Regions from separate parts of the Homo sapiens genome. Here all the other regions are linked to region 3. Evidence: promoter capture Hi-C in 16 types of primary human blood cells and fetal thymus (Javierre and others, 2016). All regions are on one chromosome and are shown on one strand. Each heading gives the region's core, a stretch centred on a gene start or on the middle of the fragment in contact. The rest is flanking DNA. Distances are from core to core; before and after follow the strand shown. Region 1 has its middle 23 kb from the start of SCIRT. Region 2 overlaps MRPL14 (mitochondrial ribosomal protein L14). Region 3 holds the start of TMEM151B (transmembrane protein 151B).

What was found. Contacts are between HindIII fragments. The CHiCAGO score rates a contact against its expected background, and 5 or more counts as called.
Region 1: a fragment that was not itself captured here is called in contact with the fragment with the promoter of TMEM151B in region 3 in 7 of 17 cell types (naive B cells, M2 macrophages, megakaryocytes and 4 more); the score reaches 7.3 in naive B cells.
Region 2: a contact is called between a fragment that was not itself captured here and the fragment with the promoter of TMEM151B in region 3, in 1 of 17 cell types (naive B cells). The highest score is 5.3, in naive B cells.

The regions. Positions count from the first base shown.
Region 1 is chr6:44,095,501-44,099,504 of GRCh38, forward strand. No RefSeq gene overlaps it. Among named protein-coding and RNA genes, the nearest start is that of SCIRT, 23 kb to the left of the region's middle. RefSeq lists silencers at 1,252-1,546, 1,324-1,493 and an enhancer at 3,537-3,706. The HindIII fragment of the contact is 6,139 bases long and covers 1-4,004 here.
Region 2 is chr6:44,113,928-44,117,770 of GRCh38, forward strand. It overlaps MRPL14 (mitochondrial ribosomal protein L14), which reads right to left. Exons shown (of 3, transcript NM_032111.4): 2 at 2,614-2,702; 3 at 1-282. The coding sequence starts at 2,684. Among named protein-coding and RNA genes, the nearest start is that of MRPL14, 12 kb to the right of the region's middle. RefSeq lists an enhancer at 3,279-3,448. The HindIII fragment of the contact is 188 bases long and covers 2,380-2,567 here.
Region 3 is chr6:44,268,915-44,273,029 of GRCh38, forward strand. TMEM151B (transmembrane protein 151B) reads left to right here and starts at 1,536. Exons shown (of 3, transcript NM_001137560.2): 1 at 1,536-1,963. The coding sequence starts at 1,829. The HindIII fragment of the contact is 13,529 bases long and covers 1-4,115 here.

The DNA of each region.
Region 1 (4,004 bases), core at 109-2,608, 170 kb before region 3:
CCTCTGCCTCCCGAGTTCAAGCGATTTTCCTGCCTCAGCCTCCTGAGTAGCTGAAACTACAGGCGTGTGCCACCACACCCAGCTAATTTTTGTATTTTTAGTAGAGACAGGTTTTCACCATGTTGGCCAGCTGGTCTCGAACTCCTGATCTCAGGTGACCCACCCTCCTTAGCCTCCCAAAGTGCTAGGATTACAGGAATGAGCTACCACACCCGGCCAAGAAAGTATTTTTACAGACCCCAAGAATGGGGTGTCCAGCTGGGCGTGGTGGCTCATGCCTGTAAAATCCCAGTACTTTGGGAGGCCAAGGTTGGCGGATCACCTGAGGTCAGGAGTTCGAGACCAGCCTGGCCAGCATGGTGAAACCCTGTCTCTACTAAAAATACAAAAAATTAGCTGGGCGTGGTGGGAGGAGCCCGTAATCCCAGCTACTTGGGAGGCTGAGGCAGGAGAATCGCTTGAACCCGAGATGGCGCCATTGCACTCCAATCTGGGTGACGAGAGCGAAACTCCGTCTCAAAAAACAAAAAAAGAATGCAGTGTCCCCAGCCCCAGGCCCCGCCCTGCTTCACCCCACCTCCCTCCACAGTTTGGCCTGGGTCCATGGCTGGAGTCCCTTCCTAGCCTATAGCCCCAGGCCCTGCTGCAGTGACCCCCATCAGCCCAGGGCATTCTGTTCATGCCCCATGACTCTCATGAAGGATGAGAGCAGGGTGCTGGCTTTACAGGAGTTGGGTGAACCTCAGATACTGAGAGTGGACAACACTTACACAGCCCTGACCCGGAAAGGGGACCTGTTTTAAGTGCCTTATTTTGACTCACTTCAACCCTACAAGGTACGTACTATTACATTCCAAGGAGGGGAAACTGATGCACAGGGGACTTGCCCAAGGGATGTGAACCCTGGCAGTCTGGTGCCAGGGTCTGTCCTCCGTACTCCACCTCAAGGTAGTCATTGCTCTCTCTAGACTCTGAGTGTCTCTACCTGCTCTCCTCTCTCCTCTTTGCTTTCACAATGATCCTGCCAGATGCTCTCTTTCCTGCCAGAAGGGAGGGCTACATGTGAAAATCTGGCATCAGAGTCTCAGCCACTCCCTTCTCAGGAACCACCTGCCTGCCTGCCATAGCAGGCGGTGAAGAGCCAGCCCTGACATCAGACAGCTCCTGGAGGCAGGCAGGCCTGTCTGAACCCTCCTCCCTGCTGCAACAGAAATGGCTACCAGCCCCACTGGCCAGGCCTACAGCAGGCTGTGCCTGGCCCCCACTTGACAGGCAGCACTCACCTCTCACCTCTGCTCTGGGGGCCCAGCTGAGGCAGCACCTGCCCAGGATGTCATGGTGCCATAGTTGCACCAGCTCCAGGACCAGGGCAGCTGAACGCCCCTTTGCCCACTAGATGGCACAATGTGCACAGAAATGTGGGTTGACCGCTTGGCCACCCTTTCCACCTGCAGAGGAACTGGATTTCACCACACTCTGCATTTATCTCATTTTTATTCTCATTCCTCATCCTAACCCATAGCCAACCATTTGTATGTGTCCTTGCAAAACAAGTGCATGTATTTTTTAGTTTCACAATTAGTAATATATATATATATATATATATATATATATATAAAAAACACACACACACATTATAGATATATTTCTTAATTGTTTTCGCTCAGCACTGTATTTTTAAACCTCATTCATGTTGCTGTGAGCACATTTAGTTTCTGGTGGGCACCTTCCACATTTATTTACCCACTCTGAGGGCGACAGGCACCCAAGTTCCCTCCAACACCCCAGCAACCCTGCCATGACCGTCCTTGACAGGAACCGTTACGGCTCGGCCTGAAAACCTAAGAAGCGGAATTGCCAGGTTACAGGGCATGCAGCGACTTCATTTGGCACAGTACTGCCAGCCAGCTCTCAACCCACCCAGTTCTTGGAGGGTTCCTGGGGAAAAGACGCCCAGCCTCCTAGGACTAGTCAGCCTAGCACCCCTTCCTGTGGGGAGGGGCCCCAATCCTTTCTGCTTGGGCCCAAGGGAGATGGAGAGCCAGTGGCCTCTGTCAAGAGCGTCTTGCAAAGGTAAGACCTTAAGGTCCTACATCTCCCCTGGGCATTTTTTTTTTTAAGTAAAGGGCAATGGCTGGCCTGTTAAATCCCCCACATCCCTCTCTTCAGGAGCCTTTCTGATTACAAAGCCCATTCTTTTTCTCCCTTCTCCTCCCACAGAACTATCCCAGTTTCCTGCATTTTCCCATTTCTCTTCCTCTGCCCATCCCTTCCATGTGAACACCCTACACTTACTAGCTATGTGTCTGTGGACAAGTTACTTGGACTCTCCCTCTTTGTCTATAATATGGAAATAAGTAATATCATTACTAATAATAGGCACACAGGCATAATCCCTCCCTGGCCTCTGCACACAGCCCTCTCTCTAACTCAATGCTGCCCCACTTCCCACATATATTTAAGTAGCTCAAGCCCCTCCTCCCCCAGGAAGTCATCCCTGATTGAACCAGATACAGTCCCAATGTCCTTAATCCAACTGTCACCTACTAAGAGCTCAAGTGATTATTTTTGGCTGAAATTTGAAATAACAATAATGGCTATGATTGATACGCTGAGCACCTACTATGTGCCAAGAATTCTACGGCCTACTCCATATCCACACAAGAGCCCTGGAAGGCAGACATTGTCATCCTGACTTCTCAAATGAGGAGGCTGAGACTCAGAGAGTAAGGTGACTTGCCTGAAGTCACTGGCAGGTAATTGTCAAGGTCAGGACTGGAATACAGGCTTGTCTGATATAAAAGCTCTACCCCACACCACCTCCTTCAGAATCCCTTCCTCTTGCCCTCATTCCCCCATACACATGGTATGTGCATTGCATTTTAAAATTATTTGTGATTTTAAGTACACAAATAATAGAGGGATATAGTCTCTTTATTAAAAAATTAAAGCACTACAGAGCTGTGTCACCTTTGACCAGGAACCTTCTACCTCCCTCCTCCCCAAAGGAACTCCCACTATTAGCACTGTCTTGGGTATCATTCTTGTGCTTTTTTGCCTTTTTTTTTTTTTTTTTTTGAGACAGGGTATCTTGCTCTGGTGCCCAGGCTGGAGTGCAGGGAATGTAGTGGTGTGATATCACAGCTCACCACAACCTCTGCCTCCCAGGTTCAGGTGATCTTCATGCTCAGCCTCCCAAGTGGCTGGGATTACAGGTGCACACCACCAGGCCCAGCTAATTTTTGTATTTTTAGTAGAGACGGGGTTTCACCATGTTGGCCAGGCTGGTCTCGAACTCCTGGTCTCGAGTGACCACCCACCTCAGCCTCCCAAAGTGCTGGGATTATAGGTGTGAGCCACTGCACCCAGTCCCATAAATTTTTCTGTATTTGTAGGAAATAACGTTGTTAAGTGATTTTACATAAATAATGTGTGTGGGGCCGGGCACAGTGGTTCATGCTTGTAATCCCGGCACTTTGGGAGAACGAGGCGGGTGAATCACTTGAGACCAGGAGTTCGGGACCGGCCTGGTCAACATGGCGAAAACGCGTCTCTACTAAAAACACAAAAATTATCTGGGCATGGTGGCCTGTGATCCCAGCTATGCAGGAGGTTGAGACACCTTGAACCCGGCGTATGGAGGCAGAAGTGAGCTGAGATTGCACCACTGCACTCCAGCCTGGGTGACAGAGTGAGACCCTGTCTTAAAAAAAAAAAAAAACAAAAAACCCACAATAATGTGTGAGGTATATCACTCTTCAACAGGCTTTTTTCCATTCAACAATATGTCTTGGAGAGCTACATCTATCTATACCTACACCATCCTTTCTTGGAACAGTTGTGTGCTACTCCATGGCACACATGGACTTTGCTTATTTACCCAGGCCCCTACTGATGGCTATTCAGATTGTTTCCAATTCTATTAAAAACAGGCTGAAACGAGTATGTACAGACCTCTCTGGGCACTGTGGTATGTGCTCTGTGCAGGGCATGGACAGTCATCT
Region 2 (3,843 bases), core at 1,224-3,723, 150 kb before region 3:
CGTGTCCCCACAGGGTTCCCGTTGTCCTCAATGAGGACCACGTTGTTGGAGTCGAATCTGGGGGTCATTCGGGGGCCAGGCATGCAGTGCCCCACAATGAGCGCCTTTTTCTTCTGTCCCTTGATGGCCAGTAGTATCTGGTCGCCCACCTTGCCCACTCCATTCTTCTTATAGACATGGATGCAGCGAGGAGCCCGATGGTATGGGCTGTTCCCCAGGGCACTGTTGTCCACCACTCGTACCCGCGTCATCTTCTGAATCGCACTCAGACTCCCAGTGGTGCTGGTGGGAGGAAAAAAAAAAGTCTGCAGTCTGTATCTCTTATGGTCAGGGTGCACAGGCCTCTGAGAGGTCAAGGCTAGGGAGAATGTACATGTCAGCAACACACACAGAGCAGAGTGCTGTCCAGGAGCAGCAACAGAAAGTCAGGACTTTGTGAAGACTTATCTGTACCCACAACAGTTTCCTCACAATTGAGAGCTTCTGCTGTTGTGTCAAGGTCTCAATTTGGATGGGTTTTAAAGAGAACCCAATTTTTCTGTGACAATGAACTTCACAGCAGCCATAACTTAAAGCCTTTGCTTTCCAAAAGGACTCTAAGGACTTAAAGGAATCCCTTATGGGCTAGGCCTCACCCACTGCCTATCCTGAAAAACCTGCTTCCCCAGAATACACCATTCCCTAATTTTCTTTTTTTTTGAGACGGAGTCTCGCTCTGTCGCCCAGGCTAGAGTGCGGTGGCGCCATCTCAGCTCACTGCAAGCTCCACCTCCCGGGTTCACACCATTCTCCTGCCTCAGCCTCCCAAGTAGCTAGGAATACATGCGCCTGCTGCCATGCCCAGCTAATTTTTTGTATTTTTTAGTAGAGACAGGGTTTCACCGTGTTAGCCAGGATGGTCTCGATCTCCTGACCTCATGATCCGCCCGCCTCGGCCTCCCAAAGGGCTGAGATTACAGGCGTGAGCCACCGCGCCCGGTCCCCTAATTTTCTTATTTACATGTTGCTGGGAACTAGAAGATATGGGTAAGTTTACTAAGGGAATTCTCTGACACAACATACCAGAAACTGGTAATAAGTCAAGGTAACAATCTTCTGTTTTAATACATTTTTTCTCATTAGAAAAAAAAATTTTAGAGAGTACTTATTGAAGGCAGACAAGGTATTATTAAGCAAGCTGATTACAGTGGGATTCCTATTTTCCTGATGCTAGCACCTGATGCTGGTGTTTCCGCAGGGTAATCCTAGGACCTCTTCTCTCGTTTTTTATGCCTACTCTGGGCAATCTTACCCATTAGCATTGCTGCCAACTAGTAAATTCCATCTCCAGCCCCGCCTCTCTTCTATATTCTAGTTCTATATATTTCCACTCTCCTCAACTCCCTACAACATGCTCTATAGATACTGCAAACTCAGTAGGTCCCAAACTCATCTCACTGCCTCCCCTTGCAAACCTCCGCCTGCTGCTACACTTATCTAGACGATGGCTTCTCCAGCAGTACCAGAAGCCAAGCCATAAACCTCTCTCCACCAACATGAACTGGCCACCAAGTCCTGTTAATATCACCCCCTAAGCACCTATGTCCTTTCTCTCCAATCCCGCCAACAACTTCCTTCATTTAGCAGCTCACTCTCCTACACCAAGACTGTGACATTAGTGTCCTAGTTGGTTCCCATTGCACTTCACTTTGCCAACAAAGAGCTCTCTTTAGAATATAAAAGTGATGCTACTCCCCACCATCTACACTGTCAACAACCTTGTCCCAATTTACCTACCTTCTAAGGCTACACATCCTACCACTCTGGGCAGGAGAACCAGGAACCACTTCCCCAAGCACACCCTGCCTCCCAATTCTCCCTGGAGGCCTAGACAGGATCTGCCCCCATCTCCCTTTTGAGAAGACTGCCTCCACTCTTTCTCCTCCTCTTCCTCCACTAGCAGCTCCTATATGACGCCTTCCAAAGCACTGTACAATCCTCTATTATAATATTCTATCACATTTTCTTAGAGTTACTTATTTTCAAGTTTGCTCCTGTGGCTGACAGTGAGAATTCTTTCAGGACAGAAAGCAACTCTCTTTCATCTCTGTATGGCCAACCCCAGGTGCGGTGCTCAGGAAATGCCTGTGGGATGAGGGCATGACGGGGCCAGGAGGCATGTCTGCCAACAAGCGTGCCTCCTGTGCTCTCCTGGCTTAGCATCTACAAGGAGGGGAGGGTGTCACACTTCTATCATGCTCAAGTTCTTGGTAATAAGCATGTATTATTTTTGTAATTAAAAAAATTCCGTTTTTAAAAGGATTTTAATGCTCTAGGGGAATGATAGGGTTGAGAGATGTCAGATTCACTGTAAGAGTCTTGCAAGGACTGAAGAGTAAAAGCTTCCGCCATATGCCATTCCCCATCACACTTCTAACAGCAACATCACCTCTTTACCTATCCCCCATCCTGTGACCAGACCAACCAGGCCAGCTCAGCCTGATCACTTTAGCTTTCCCCAACCCCATGCCCACCTCCCTGAGTTTTTACTCCTGTTCTAGTCACCGTAATACCCAGCCCTGATAGGAAGCTTACACAAAGACACAGTTTTAAGAACTTAATGGGAAAAGTTACCTGAAACAGTGATGGCTCAGCACTCTGCTTACACAGGTGAAGGGGCCCCAGAGCCCAGTAAAGAAAGCCATGGGATCCCAAGATAGATCCTGCAGGAAAAACGAGAGGGGGAAAAATTGGTTTCTAAGTCAGAGCCCTTAAAGCCAGTTTTCTTTGGGGACTTGTGTGGGAGATGGCACTTCCAGCACAAGATCATTAGTCACAAAATATAAATCTTAGTGGTTAAAGGATACACAGATGATTAGACAGAGCTGTAGCTCCGATTTTGCTGATTCACATTCTAACTCTGGGGTTGGAGAGGGAGAATGGCCCACAACAGCTTCTGCTATAAAAAAATACAACAGCACGGAGAATGCCTTCCTTATTATATCACTTCCACAGGCAGGAGGAAAATATGAGCCCTTGGTTATAAACCCAGCCAGGGACTTCTTCTCGAGTCCTCCATAGAGGAAAAACTGCACACTATTGCCCTTTTTGATATTCATATGCCTTCTGAAACCAGCACTTTAACTCCCTAAAAGAAAGTAAATTATCTAAGCAGCCACCCAAGTTGTCTATCACTACATCACCTTTCCCCCAAATGTAAAGGCCAGAACACCTGTACAGCTCAAGGCCAGCAAAGCAAAGCCAAAGGCTGCTCTTGCCAAGTCAAAGACCAAAGTCTTTATTTGGGTCAGTCTCCCAAACACTGTAACATGGAAAACTGACCTACACCATACTACAGCTGAAAGTGGGCTTTGGGAAACCAACTTGAAGAGTTAGCTAAAAGAGCAAACACCAACCCAAGACTTGTGACTCCAGTTTTCAGAATCTCAACCCTGTTGCTCCCTAGCACTAACAAATATGGAGGCTGCCAGTGCCCTGAAACACCTGAACATCACTTCAGAGCATGCTTCAGAAAGGCCTGTAGCCAGCTGCAAAACACACCTGTTTTTCCACCCAAACGTTTGGCAGCAGAGGTGCCCATTCAAGAGGTCTGCCGAGAAAAGCCTCTACACTGTAGTATTTACACACAGCTTTGCTATGCACAAGTTCAAACCACCTCAGATAAGATTTTATTTAATAAGAATGTTAGGGTGGGGCAGGGGAATCCACTCCTCCCCAGGAATACCTAGACACTCCATACTTTTTTTTCTTTCCTTGAGACAAGTCTTGCTCTGTCACCCATGCTGGAATGTAGTGGTGCAACTGCAGCTCACTGCAGTCCCGAACTCCCCAAGCTCAGGTGAT
Region 3 (4,115 bases), core at 286-2,785:
AAGGGAGTGAACCAGACCCCCGCCTCTTCTGGACAGCCGCCTTCCTCTGGGCAGGGAGAATGGACCCATCAACCTGGAGAGGACCATGCAGGCTGGATAGCTCTAAGCAATAGGTGGACAGAGAGCCACCTTCACCTCACCTGGAAAGGGAAGAGTAGTAAAATGAAGGCAGGGCCAGGAGTGGGACTAGAGGGGTGGGAGCAGTGGCTCTCCTGTCCCCAACAAGGGGAAGGAACATCCTGGGCAGATCAGTGTGTTTGTACCCTATCCCCCAAAATCAGACATCGAGGCTTTGCCCCAAACTAACTTCCTACCCACAAATATTCCCCATAGATTTTGAGTGGGAAAGATCTGAATTCTAGGACTAGCTCTGTGAGTGCTAGCAGGTGACCTTGAGTAAGCCATTCACTCTCCCTCTGCCTTGGTTCCCTGTGAGTAATTGGGGAGAACAGTTACTGTATGTCAAAGACTCTAATGACACATAGTAGGATTCCACAGTGACTGTGTATGCACAAGATTGATCATGCATGGCTTTTATTATATTCTTCATAATGGTTGTTTTTCATGTTCTTTTCTCCCCATTAGACTTTGTGCTCCTTGCAGGAAGGAAACTGTGTTTCATTTCTGTACTGGGCACACAATAGGTACCCAACACCTGTTTACTGAATGGAGACATCCAGAAATGAATGAATGAATAAATGTCAGGGTCCTTCCTGCTGTGCCAGGGGATACAGGGAAAAGCAGTGTGGGGTGGATGGCCTGAAAGGATAGGCTGCCTGCAGTGGCTCAGCCTGGCTTGCTTCCTACACCTACAAGTCAGAGCCTTAGAAATTGTCCAGTCAACTTCCTCACTGCACAGATGAAGAAATTAAGGCTCAGAGACAGGAAGGCACTTGCCCAAGGTCACATAACTCCTTAATGACAGATACAGAATTCAGAATTAGAACTCAGGTTTCCTGCCCTCCAGCCTAGGGTATTGCACACACTTCACTGCTTCTCTGGAGCTGTTCTTTTAGGGAAGAAAGATGGTTCAGTGAAGGCCGGTTCCAATGCCCTCCCCTCTGCCCTCTGTTAGTCCTTTCCCACATCTAGCTTCAATCTCTTCCCTTTCCCCCTATTCCATTCCTCTGGAAGTCTAGCTTCTGCCTTAACCCTTCACCACGAAACTGGGAGTAAGGATCTTCCCTAGGGTTCCAAGAATCAATTTCCTCTCCCCACTCCTCTGCCCTGGGAACTTGGGGGAACCAGAGATGTGTGTGTGTGTGGGGGGGTGCTGTTGGTTGAACCTCGGGCACCGAGTCCACGGAGAACAGATGGAGAGGGGTTGCGGCACAGATTCTCCCAGGATAGGAGCGCGGGAGGGAGGTGCAGTGAGCAGGGCTGGGAGCGGGGAAGAGGTGTGGGGAGTCCCTGTTGCTTTACCCCTTCGGGGGGTGGTTATTAGGTAGGCTTGGGAAGGCGGAGTTTGGGGGGCTGGGGGCGGGGCTCGGCTGCGCTGGCAGGAAAGGGGGGGCGCGCTGGCTCCAGCTCGGCTCAGACAAAAGGCGGCGGCGGGAGCGGGCGGGAGGCGGAGCGGCGCCGCGAGGGCCTCAAGGTGACACCCGCCCCCGGCCCCGGCCCCCCCCGGCCCGGCCCCCCAGCCTGCCTCCCACCCTCAGCCCCCAGCCCCTTACTCCCGGTGCCCTTTCCGGGCCCCCTCCCCCGGCGGGGGGTGGGGAGCAGCGAGGGCCCCGCCCCCTCCCGTCCTCTCCCCAGGGCCCGCGCAGGATGCCCCCGGCCCCTGGCAGCCCCCCGGGAGGTCCTGAGCTCGACGCGCCCCCTCTACGCCATGTCCCCCCCTGGCTCGGCCGCGGGAGAGAGCGCCGCCGGCGGCGGCGGCGGCGGTGGCGGCCCCGGGGTCTCGGAGGAGCTCACGGCGGCGGCGGCAGCGGCGGCGGCGGACGAGGGCCCCGCCCGAGAGGAGGTGAGAGTCTAGGGCGCCCCTTCCCCGGGCGCGGCCGCAGCCTGGCCCCCCATCCCCCATCGCACGCGTCCCCCGCTGGTTCCGCCGCAGCGCGGCCGGCGCCCCGCACCCCGAGCCGGCCGCTGCAGCCGCAGTCCGCGCCGCCGCCCCCACCCGGCGGCCGGAGCTGTCCGCGGTGCCGGGGAAGGGGCCGCGCCGGGGGCGGGGCTCAGGGGTCCCGGGCAGGGGGAGGGGCCTAGGGGCGGAGCCTCGCGGATCCTGGGCTTATGAGAGTGGGGGCTATGCTCTACCGGGGTGGGGACGGTGGCGGGGATCCTGTCTCACAGAGGAGGATGCTACCTTGAAGGCCAGGAAGGGCGGCTTGTACGGGCTACAGAACGAGGAGGGTACCATGGGGAAGTGGTGGTGGTACCTGATCTGGGACCCTAAGGAGGTCAGATGTGTACGGGGGGTCCCGCCTGTGGTCATTGGGAGTGTGTGTGTGTGTGTGTGGGGGGGGGTGTGCACCTCTCTCTCACGAGGCTCCTGCTGCTTCCTCATATCCCTAGTTGGGGTCCCTAGTACTCAGTCCTCTGAACCTGAAGACAAAGAGACGGAGGAAAGTACCAGGAGCACCCCCACTCCAGCCTCCCATGCACACTTGTGCACACGCATGCACCCTGTACTAGGGCAGAGGCACACAAGCGGGGATGGGCCTGCAGGTAAAGCCCCTTTCAGAGGTACCCACATGGGGACAAGCACATAACCAGGTAGGCACACGAAGGGGCCCGTATGTTCATACCTCCTAAGGACAAGGCTCCCCGAAAGGCACATGTACCCTAATCTCCTTGTCCACATGTACTGTGTGCTATTTCCTAGCTCGCCTAACTATCCATACTTCTAGATCCAGGGACCGATGCCTATTACTGTACCCTTCTTTTCCACTCTTTTCCTCTCTTTCCTGGCTGGCCTCTAGGTCAGGCCTGAGGAATTGAGGGGGTAAGTCAGGATCCCAGCAGGAGGTTGTGTGTGTGTGTGTGTGTGTGTGTGTGGTGGGGGATGGGTTCCTAAAGCTAGACAGCACAGAGGAGGGGTGGGAAAACAGAGGCCACTACAAGAAATTAAACTCAACACTCAATTAGGATGTGGCTGCTGGGGGCCAGCACCATGGTAGGCACCTAGGATGCAAAGAGAATGAAGCATGGGCCCTCAGGAGTACCCAGTGTAGTGGGGAGCCAGACATGTAAACAACTCCTGGGCCAACCCTGGGACAGAATGTGCCAGGAGCTTTAACAGACAGGCTCCAGGAGAGTACCAAAAATAATTTTCTCTTGATAAATTGCTGGGCTTCAAACGTTGTCCTCGCTACCCCAGTCCCACATCCCCTATGCCTGTCCTCTCCTCAGCCACATGCCTCTGCCCTTCTGGATACCTCCTCCTGGACTGCCTGCCGCTCAGGGACCCCAGCCCCCTCCCTCCCATCCTAGGACAAAGGGAAGGATGTCAGGGTGCAGGAGGGAGACTCACAGGGGAACCAGGGTCCAGAACATGGGGAATGAGACTGGGCCTGGGGTTCTCTGGAGGCCCTTATCCAAAGGACGTGTTAGGCTAATTGTGAGGGTTAGGGAGGTGGATGGGTCAGAGGGGAGTAGCTCCTCTAGAACCTAGGACTGAAAAAAATCTGGAAGTGAGGGCCCCACTTGTTAAGTGGGGAAGTGATGTCAGTGGGTCCCTCCCCCTTTTCTAGAGGACCTGGAAGGGGTCTGGGCTGGGGACCTTCCTTCGCTGATGCCTGTCTGTCTGTCCTCCCCTGTCTTCCCTGTCCACATCTTCTGTTTCATTGCCATTTTTGTGTTTGTCTTCGGATGCTCTCTGGGTACCATCCTATCCATCTGTGTTTGCTGCCTGGGCCTCTATCTCTGGCTCTGATCCTTCTCTGCCTCTTGGGGTGTCTCTCTCTGCACTCTCCTGTACTGGCATTCCGGTCCCCTTTCCTGTCCTCTGGCTTGCTCTGTGTCACTTCTGTTTCTACCTCTGGCCCCTGGCTCCCATCTTGGTCTCACCTTTTCTCTCCATATCCCTGTTTCTCTCTGCCTGTTATCTCTGGTGCTGGCCTCTGCCCCTCCATCCCCGTATCCATCTCTGTGCTGGGTCCTGCCTGCTCTCACTTCCC